Regions from separate parts of the Homo sapiens genome. Here region 2 is linked to region 1. The links are contacts of gene promoters, found by promoter capture Hi-C in human tissues and cell types (Jung and others, 2019). All regions are on one chromosome and are shown on one strand. The core of a region is centred on a gene start or on the middle of the fragment in contact, and the rest is flanking DNA. Distances in the headings are between cores, read along the strand shown. Region 1 holds the start of ST6GAL2 (ST6 beta-galactoside alpha-2,6-sialyltransferase 2). Region 2 overlaps LINC01789 (long intergenic non-protein coding RNA 1789).

The links. Contacts are between HindIII fragments. The study calls those that stand out against the background at their distance.
Region 2: a fragment that was not itself captured here is called in contact with the fragment with the promoter of ST6GAL2 in region 1 in 1 of the 25 tissues and cell types used here (dorsolateral prefrontal cortex).

Annotation. Positions count from the first base shown.
Region 1 is chr2:106,883,637-106,888,740 of GRCh38, forward strand. It overlaps ST6GAL2 (ST6 beta-galactoside alpha-2,6-sialyltransferase 2), which reads right to left and starts at 2,531. Exons shown (of 6, transcript NM_001142351.2): 1 at 2,457-2,531. LOC124907864 (a long non-coding RNA gene) reads left to right here and starts at 2,897. Exons shown (of 2, transcript XR_007087169.1): 1 at 2,897-3,471. The HindIII fragment of the contact is 7,907 bases long and covers 467-5,104 here.
Region 2 is chr2:107,324,738-107,329,803 of GRCh38, forward strand. All of the region lies in intron 1 of LINC01789 (long intergenic non-protein coding RNA 1789), which reads right to left. Among named protein-coding and RNA genes, the nearest start is that of LINC01789, 38 kb to the right of the region's middle. The HindIII fragment of the contact is 3,735 bases long and covers 1,333-5,066 here.

The sequences.
Region 1 (5,104 bases), core at 1,281-3,780:
CCTGCCATGAGGGTACTATCTGATTCCCTTAGACATTTATGCATGCTGAATTAAGTACTTAATTTAATTTAAGCAATTAAATTTTAAGATCATATTACAGAAAATCCAGGAAAAGAAAAAACTCAATCAATCAGGAATAACACAATACATTTAAAGAGCAAATGCATTAACAAAGACTGTCCTTATTATCATGCATAAGATATTTTTATTCAAAGTCTCACCCATGAGGTAGCAATCTGCAAACTAATTAAGAGCTTCCCAGAGGACAAATATCTCCAAGTTTTTGGAAAGGAACCTATCATTTATTTACCTAAGAAGGAGTGGCAGAAGCCTAGAAATCAGTTTGTCTTTCAGAAAAGATTTAATCATTTGAGAAATGCTTGGATAAATTCTAAACCTGGAGGGTAAAATTTCAGTCAGTATCAGTATAAGCAATAGACCAGAGCCTCACACACTGAAATCATCTCAGAAAGAAGAGAAACTCGGGGGTGGGGGGGTGGAACCTCCAGAAACAAGCACGTACAGGAATTTTTTCAGCAGTCCCTTCGCTATTTAATCTTTGCTGGCTGGATTGGCCACAACTCCCTAGACTCAACTTATGTCTTCACCCCACAGAGTAAACCTTTTCCCTCTTAATTATCCTCATCAGAAACTCAACACAGATAACTGCCCTCTTCTGCATAATAAATCATTCACATATTTTCAAATGTTAAATTGTCTCAACTTTGAATCCTCTAGTCTAAAAATCCTGAATTTTGTATCCTTGCTTCCTAGATCCTGTGCACCACATAGCAAACTCACCAAATGTTGGTCCTTGCTCTGACCTCACTCTTTCCAGGAGTATCCATCCAAAGCCTCTCTAAACTGTGGAGCTCAGTACTCCATATAAAGCAGTGACTCCTATCACAATCTCTACAAGACATTTAACTCAAAACTCCAGAAGCTTTCACAGCACCAAGCAAAAATGTAAGATGCTACCATTTGTATCTATTGCGGCAAAAATTGGATAGAGTGCCTTTTTAACTTTGCAGTAAAATTCAAGGCACTTCACCTATTATTTTAGACTTTCATCAGTTTTGAGCACAATATCCATTCACCTTTGCCAACAGTTTCTTTTAATGCATTAGTACAAAATTCCTCAAGTGGTATATAAAAATTTTGGTTGTCAGTTCCAGAAAAATAATGGGGGAAGGAGAGTGGGTAAAAACAGGTTCAAGGCCACACATCAGTTTTCCTTTTAAAAAAAGTTTTAACCCTAAATTTGCAGCGCATATATATATATATATATATATATATATACATACACACACACACATATATACATATGTGTATGTATATACATATACATCATATATATATAGCACTTCACTTTATTGGAATTCTTCCTTGGTCATAAATTATATTTCAAGTTGGCAAAAAATGTTGATCAGAATTTCAAAAAAGGGAAGCATCAAAGTAACCAGCATGGGGTTTTTCAAGTGTGCAGAAAGTTCTCTAAATACAAAATGTGCTTCCAGCCCACCAAAGACCCCCCTCACCCAAGCAGGCAGTCCTCGGCGAGGAGGGTCAGCATGCCCCTTTATGGTCAGAACGGCAGTGGTGCAAAAGACAATGATTTCAACCAAATATGGTTTGCCTCTCGCCAAATTTTTCGCATGTCCAATAAAAATAAGTTCACAAAAATCCAGCCAAGCATTACTTTCCCCCCAAAAGTGCTTCTCAGATTACAAAACAGCTTTGAAAGTTCAGCCTGACAAAACAAATATGGTACTAGGAGGAGAGACCTGGAAGGCAATCACAAAAAGTCTCATTTAAATTCCTGGAAAGCACAGCTTCTCCAAACACAGCTATTCAGCTCTTTGGAAGGCAGCACTTGCGGGAGCCATTGAGTTTAACTTCACTCAGTCCCCCAACACAGAACCGGCAAATCCGAATGAGATGGACGTCACACTCCCTACTCAAAAGAATGCATCAAATATCCACTCCGTAACACCGCGGAAAGTAAACCCAAAAGCGGAGTTTGCCGCCTGCCAACTACATAAGAATTAACACTCGGGTATTTAGGATTCTAAAGATCCCTACTACCCCAAACATTATAGCCACAGAGAACCAGAAATGAACAGAACACACTTTAACCTTTAAGAAGTGCAGTTTTGTACGGGGGTTGGCTGAAGAAAGACAAAAATCTTCACTCCCTTCCAGAGCCAAAAGAGCCAAAATAAAAGATCACCTTTACTGAGCCACAGGGGCACAACTGTATCCGCCCGTCCCCAAAGCGCAAGCCGTCCTCCCGTTCGCTTCTCCAGAATTTCCTGCTTTTCCCCAAACCACCTTCAACATTCCCCACACACGGGTCTCGCTCCTAAACACGGAGTGTAACTCCGCGCACAGCAGCGCGGAGGCTGCAGCGCCACCAAGAAAGGCGTCGCCAACCCTTACCCAGTGCCCTCCCTTACCAGCCTTCTTCCCACGCCGCGCCTCGAAGCGCACGACACCGTGGTGCTCGGTGCTCCCCCTGGCAGCGCGGCACTGGAGTCCAAGGCGTGCGTGTCACATTTTATTCCCCGGCAGCCGCTCGGGTGCGCGCGCTACGCGCTCCCACACTCACGCTGGCGCCCGCTAGAGCTGGGACCCTGGCCGGGGTCCCCGACTCACGCCGCGGAACTTGGGGGCTGCAGAAGGCGAGTGCGCGGCGGGAGTCGTCCTGCCGCAGGCTCGAGTCCTCCTCCTGCCACCGTGGGGTCTCGGAGCTGCCCCGCGCTCCCGTCCCAGGCGGCCTGCGGGATCACCTCTCCGGGGCCAGCGCTGCTCCGCGCCGGCGGCAGCTGCAAGCGCGGGCGGCGGGGCACAGCGGGTGGCTCGGCCTCAAAGCCGGCGGGAGGCTACGCTCAGCCCCGCGCTGCACGCCTCATTGTTTCGGGCAGCGCGGCGGCGGCTCCCGCGGCCAGAGGAACCGCGGCCCCGAGCCCCGGGGAGAGGCGGCGGTTCCCGGCCCACGCACCGAGGCTGCGCCGCGCCCCGCCCCCGAGCTCCGCTCGCCCCAGAGCCCCCTCCCTCTCCGCGATCCCTTTCATCCTTCCCGCTCCAGGCTCACCTAGCTGGCGGGAGCCGGGCACTGGGAAGTTGGGCTGCCCCCTCCCCGCGCCCCCGGCCCGGCAGCTCGGCCCGCCGGCGAGCGCAGGCGGGGCGCTCCCTGGCTGCGCGCGGATTTCTGCTTGTCGCGGAGAGTGACTGCAGACTTGGGCTGCGTGGGGCGGTGCGGGGCAGCACGGCTGCCTAAAAAGGCGTGTTTCTCCCCGGCCGCCGCCTCCATCCAGCCCTAGTTCTTCCGAAGGTTACCTGCACAGTACCCGCCTGGCACCGCGCCTGGACACCTCCGGGGCACTCGGGTCCCGGGCGGCGGCAGGAATGCAGGAATGCGCACAGGCTGTGGGCGGCCAGGAGGGAGTCCCGGCGCCTGCCCCGGCGGAAGTGAGTCTTTGTGTACCCTGTCCAACACCTCCCCCCGCCAGCGCGGAAGGCCGGGCTACCTGCGCGCCTGGCAGCGCCTGGCAGCCGGCTGGGTGGGGCGCAGGGGAGCGCAGCATCCTCCCCGGCTCGCTAGCTCCCTTTGTTCATCTCGCTCAACCAGGCTCCGCACTGCCGCCTGGCCCTCGCTCCCAGAGCTTCTCTAAGGATATGGGATGGACTTGGGAGCGGGCCACCTTTCATTTGGGAAGGGTAGCTCGCCAAGTCCGGTGACGGTGCTCCCTGGAGACCCCCACCTGCCCGCCCCTCCACACTGCCGGTCCCCAACCCCAAGAGGGACGGAAAGTTCTTGGGGTAGAAGCCGGCGGGACAAGTGGTTGAAGCAGCCTCCGGAGCCAGTGGGCGGCTGCGAGCTGGGCAGCTGGAGCCTGCGGGCGGGGCCGCGGGGAGGTGCCCATCGAGTGTCGGTCTGGTCGCGTGCGGAATGTCCACTTGTCACCGCGGCCCTTGCGTTTTCTCGAGACGGCGGCAGCTGGTCCTAGGACCCCAAACCGCGCCGCCCTTTGTTTGCTGGTAAATACTCTCCTGTGAACTTCAGCGTGTCTCTCCGCGCGCACTCCTGGCATTGGGTGCCCCACCCCGCTGGTTCTCTCGCGGACCCAAAGAGCTGTTCAGGTGTAGGGGAATCCCAGGTAGATGGATAATATTGCTAAGGTTGGGCCCATCTCAGGGGGACTGGTTAGTCACCCCTCACCCCACCCCACACCCTCAGTCGCTAGAAGGACACACGTTTTGGAGACAGAGATCTGCCATTAAATGTATTATTTAAAAATCCGCAAATACTTTTATTCAAGTAATTTAGACTTTTTTTTTAGGGGGGAAAAAGCAATTAACTGGCTACCCAATTCATTCAGCATTCATTAGTGCCTACCTTAGCCTGGAACTCTGAGCTAGACAGTGGGCGCCCAGAACTCCCTCAAAGAGTTTACAGAAATGTAAAACAGCACGGGAATTAAACTAAAATCGAGTGGGTATAATGCACTGTGTTCAAACAAAAGTGTGGGCCGAAAACGCTTACTCAGTATTTCCCCAATTGTATTAATTATGTCTGACACATGGAATTCTGCGGAACTGCCTGAATGAACAATGTGTTACACAGATATTTTTTAAAAAAAGAAAAATTATGGCCGGGCGCGGTGGCTCACGCCTGTAATCCCAGCACTTTGGGAGGCCGAGGCGGGTGGATCATGAGGTCAGGAGATCGAGACCATCCTGGCTAACAAGGTGAAACCCCGTCTCTACTAAAAATACAAAAAATTAGCCGGGCGCGGTGGCAGGCGCCTGTAGTCCCAGCTACTCGGGAGGCTGAGGCAGGAGAATGGCGTGAACCCGGGAAGCGGAGCTTGCAGTGAGCCGAGATTGCGCCACTGCAGTCCGCAGTCCGGCCTGGGCGACAGAGCGAGACTCCGTCTCAAAAAAAAAAAAAAAAAAAAAAAAAAAAAAAAGAAAAATTATATTTTATAAATGTGAAATACATACAGTGTGGTTAAAAGTGACCAAAACAAAACAGAAACAAACAACCTGATAGAGACCCATAGCTGGTGGGGATAGAGAAAGGAAATACTGCAGAAAGACT
Region 2 (5,066 bases), core at 1,950-4,449, 440 kb after region 1:
CTTTTATGTTTCTTTCTATATATCCCAAGCCATCCTCCTGGTTTCAATTCTCATTGTACCTATCCTTTAATGAGATTCCAGATTAATTAATCCTAATATTTTAACTCTATAAATGATCCCTGTTTTGTCAACACTAATGCAATGAAAAATATTTTTCTTTGTATTGAGACCATTCTGTGTAATTAGCTTGGCCTCATGAGTCAGTCTATTTGCAAATTTGCAAATCCGCAGGATTGACTTCACTCTTTACAAGCTTCCTATCATGCATACAGCTCTAGAATTTCATTTCGCTCAAGCAGTTCTTTCCTTTCTCCTAATCTTGTCCTCAATTCAAAGATCACAGAACACTGATAAAGAAGATGATGCCAGATCTGTCAAAGAGAGGGAGATTAAAGAGAGGAGAGAGCTACAGAGAGATGTGATGTGGGAAAGAGGTGGTGGGCTGAAGTAGCTGCTCACTATGTTGTTACATTTGCTTTGGGGACACTTGTTATGGACACACTTGGCAAATTCCTAATGGGCAACCTTTGCAATCCCTTATTCTTGCTGTGTTTTTCCTAGAAGGAAAATTTGGGGGACATGTCAATTCATTTTACCAGGGAACTTGAGAAGCCCCATGCTCTTTCATTGACGGTTTGGACGCTGAGGCTGTCTTGTGCATCCAGGTGGCATTTGTCCTCTTAGTACAGCTTGATGGGCTTTCCTTTGAGGACCTCAATGTCACTTCCTTATCACCTCCAAGGCTTTTTCTATCCAGAGTTCACATGAGCACGTACTGTTAAAAATCTACTCCTCTTCTTTGATGGTGCCCACATACCCAAGCAGAAGGATCATGTATCTATCAGCCAAGAGGGCAGACCACCACAAGGGAGTTGGAGAGAAGAGGAAACATTCTTGAAATGTTGCAGAAACATTATCTACAACCAATTTTTTAAAATAAACAATTGATTTCATTTGTGGCTCAACAGATCATATTTGTTTCTATTCCCATGCCCTCATAGTTATTTCTGTACTTCTCAATAATTACCCCAATCTAAACTAGTTTTATCACATGACAACTTTTACAACCTATGAGATTGTATAGGTACTTATTGATTCCACCAGATTTTCTTCCCTTTCCCAAGTATTAAAATGATGTTAGGTACATGTTTTTATTTAAAGTTAAGGTGGGTTTTCATTGGTTTTGCTCTAAGCATTTAAACCATCCCTTAAATGAGTTGGGGACACTCTGAGGGTATTTCAAAGCCCCAATCAAGACATGCTAATCAGAGTGGCTCAGTTTCTGAAGCGCGCCCTTTTATTCCCTTTGCCTGGCTAATTACAAATGGATCCTAAGTACACTGTGGGTCAAAAAAATTAGAAAAGGCCAAAGACACAAGTGAACTCTGACAAGAAGGCTCTATGTTTTCACTTCTCTTAGTCACTGGGCCTTTGTGGTTGGGAACAGCTGTTGCAGAGAAGAAAACAGGACATCTTGAGCCTCAGGGGAAACACCAACTGGAATATGTTAATCTTTTTTGCCTAAAATCCAAGCAGCTTATCTTTTCTGAAGGTTCTCCTGGCTAATGAAAAGTATGCTTAATATTGCAAATTTTGCTTTGCAAGGCCTTTTGTCTAGTGTCATTTTCTATTTGTGAATTTTCCTTTTGTTCCCTTCACCAACCCTCCTACCAAGCGAACCCAGCACATGTTTGGCTTCCAGTCAGTTCTTCTTTGAGTCTAAAAGTCTTGGCATTTCTGTCTTAGTTTTGGCCATAGGAAAGAGCATTTTTCAATAATGCTGCTGAAATGCTGCTTTCTCTACTCCAGAGCTTTATCTGGCAAAAGGATTTACTGGGACTAGACCCAAAGAAAACAGAAAAAGAAAAAGGGAAAATGGCTCTGGAAGGCAAGATGCCAGCTTATTCGCTCTTGAGATTTTGCAACTTCCCACTACTCTTTCCATAACCTCAGTCCTTTACCCTAGGGTGTCTTTGCATTTCTTATGAGTAGAGCTGGTCCCCCCAGCACTAGGCCATGGAAACTCCCTTTAACTGTGCTTTCCTTACATGCCAAACATTTGGAACTGAGGCAACCCTCATGACAGGCAGAAGCAGTCAACTTAGTGCTGAGTCCAGCAAGATGATCAGCTTTGACCAAGACCCCTACAGAAATTGGACATCCCAGGGTTATGTATAGCATTATATGAGGCTACGTTTCCACCTTATTTGTCTCTAGTGTACTTCAAACATTCTTTGTTTTGTGTCCTGTCTCATGAATCATTCCCTCTTCCTTTATGCCAATTTTTACTCCATGTATGTGAGCTGCTCTCTCAGACCTGCTTCTGCTTTCCAGTGTTTTTGATTGCTTGTCATGGGCAGTGTTGAAAAGAGAGCAGGTGGTGGAGGTGAAGTGTTGTAGTGGAAGTGGAAGCTTCTTGCAATTTTTCTGAGAAAGCCTAGGCTTTCTATTGCATGTGGATGAGCTGAGAACTCTCTACCACCTTTTTCTTCCTTTTTGTCTTTGGGCTCCAGCGAATAACCCACTGCAATCTCCACTTCTGCACCTGAGCTATTACTTCTAGCTGGTTGTTCCCTGCTCCCCACACACCACTATCAACTGTCATACAGGCTGAAGTATGCAAAGGACCATTTGAGGTTTCCTAAAGTATTTAGTTAACAGTTCATTAGCAAAAGAGAAAGGAGGTAACAACAACATGTGTGCTGAAATTTCAACTGGTATCATCTCATAATCAAATTAGTCTTAATGGATGTAGCCAGCTGGGCCTTGATTTCATTTTCAGAGAAGTACTTTAATATTTTCCTCCACAATTTCTAGATAAATAGATTTTTACCACAATAGATGGATAACACGCATTGTTCTTCCCCATTCCAAAATGTTATATTTTAATACTTACTTGAAAACTATTTCTATAAATAGCTCAATATATTTCTAATCATTTACATAGTAATTGTATTCTCAGAAATCTTGCTTGTTGGCCAGACAAGGAACAAAAAGCCTGTGAATATTACTATGAATATTCCTCAAAGTATAGATTTGTCTATACTCCTTATTAATATCTGATGAGTTTGAAGTTGTATATTTCCTCTCTAAGCCAGTTGTTTAAAAGAATTATACATGTTTAAAAAAATCCAAGTGATTGGAATTTGAAAGTTTAAGCATTTGTTATAAATTTCCAGTTTTCTCACATTTTAATTAAATAATAAAGCCTATAACTTTATGTCTTGAGCAACTTATTGGAATTATCTTTCTAGTCTGGTACATGAATTACATGTGTAAATATCCTATAAATTGTTGAAATGGATGTTTATTCATGATTCTAGGACACAAATGTGAAAATATTTCCACTAAATATTTGATATTAATGGTAGAATTGACTCTTCTATGTCCTTGTTTATCGTCTTCTTGAGATATTAGGTTAAGAGTAATATTATACAGATTCTCACTTCTAATACGTCAGTCAATAAATCATTGCATTTGCAGCTTATATTTATTTAAATCTGACATTTTCTAATTATTGCCTCAATTTTTTTAATTGGTAGGTATTTTCCACAGTTTTAGGCTTACAAAAAAAAAGTCCAATGGAAAGTACAAAGAGTTATCATATACACCTGTCCCCAAATTTCCCCTATTCTTTGCATCTTTCAAATAGTTCATTTGTTTTGTGGACATTACACCTTTTGGAATTGTCCCACAATTCTTGGATATTATTTTCTTTTTCATTCTTTTTTAAAATTTTTGCATTTCAGTTTTGGAAGCTTTAATTAACATTTCTTCAAGCTCACTAATTTTTTTCTTTGGCTGAGTCCAGTCTACTGATGAGCCTATAAAAGGAATTCTTTATTTCTGTACAGTGTTTTTGATTTCTAGCATTTCCTTTTAATTCTCAAAGTTTTTATCTCTCCGCTTACATTACTCCTCTGTTCTTGCATGTTGTCCTCTTTTTGCATTAGAGCCTTTAGTGTATTAATCATAGTTGTTTTAAAGTCTGGGTCTGATTATTCCAATACCTGTGACACATGTACAGCTGATTCCAGTGATTGTCCTGCTCTCCAGACTGTTATTTTTTGGTCTTTCAGTGTGCCTTATAATTAGTTGTTTCTTAAAGCCAGACATGATGCACTGGGTAAAAGGAATAGAGATACATAAGACCTCAGTGTATTGTTTTATGTTTTTCTGCCTTGGAGCTAGGGCTGTGTGCAATGTTTACTATAGCTGTAGATTTCAGAAGCTAAAATTTATCCTGATGTTCTTGCTTTTGTCCCTTTTGCTCTTGTTGGAATTTTTTGGAACTTTTTTTTTTTTTTTTGAGACAGAGTCTCGCTCTGTTGCCCAGGCTGGCTGGAGTGCAATGGTGCCATCTCGGCTCACTGCAAGCTCTGCCTCCGGGGTTGACACCATTCTGCTGCCTCAGCCTCTGGAGTAGCTGGGACTACAGGCGCCTGCCACCAAGCCCAGCTAATTTTTTGTTTTTTTTTTTTAGTAGAGACAGGGTTTCACCGTGGTAGCCAGGATGGTCTTGATCTCCTGACCTCGTGATCCGCCCAACTCGGCCTCCCAAAGTGTTGGGATTACAGGCGTGAGCCACCGCACCCGGCCTGGAACTTCTTAAATAAGTTCTAAGACATGCAGTTCTTTGGTTGTATTATTCTGATATTGTTCAGGAGCCTTACTAATATGATAGTAAGGTGTTGGGGCAGGGAAAGTCTTCTATATTTTTATGATTAGGTCTCAGTCTTTCAGTGAGCTTATCACCGGGTCTATGACCTTCACAAAGCTTATCAGGTTTGCCTCCCCTCTCGCCCTTCCCTAATGTATGACAGAAAAACCAGACAGAACTGGAGTTGGGGATTTCCCTTCTGCCATGTCGATTAGGCTTTTTGAAACTCCAGTCAGTTATAGTCTGCTAAAATAGCTTCTCTTGATGATGGGCCTCATTGAGAACAAAATACTCTGAGTGTATTTGAAATTTATTGCTTTTCTACTCTTCTTGCTGAAAGCATGAGAGAAGTTATTTTCATTGTGAGAACCTAGTAAAGGCTCCTGGAGGTAAAAACTCACAAAAG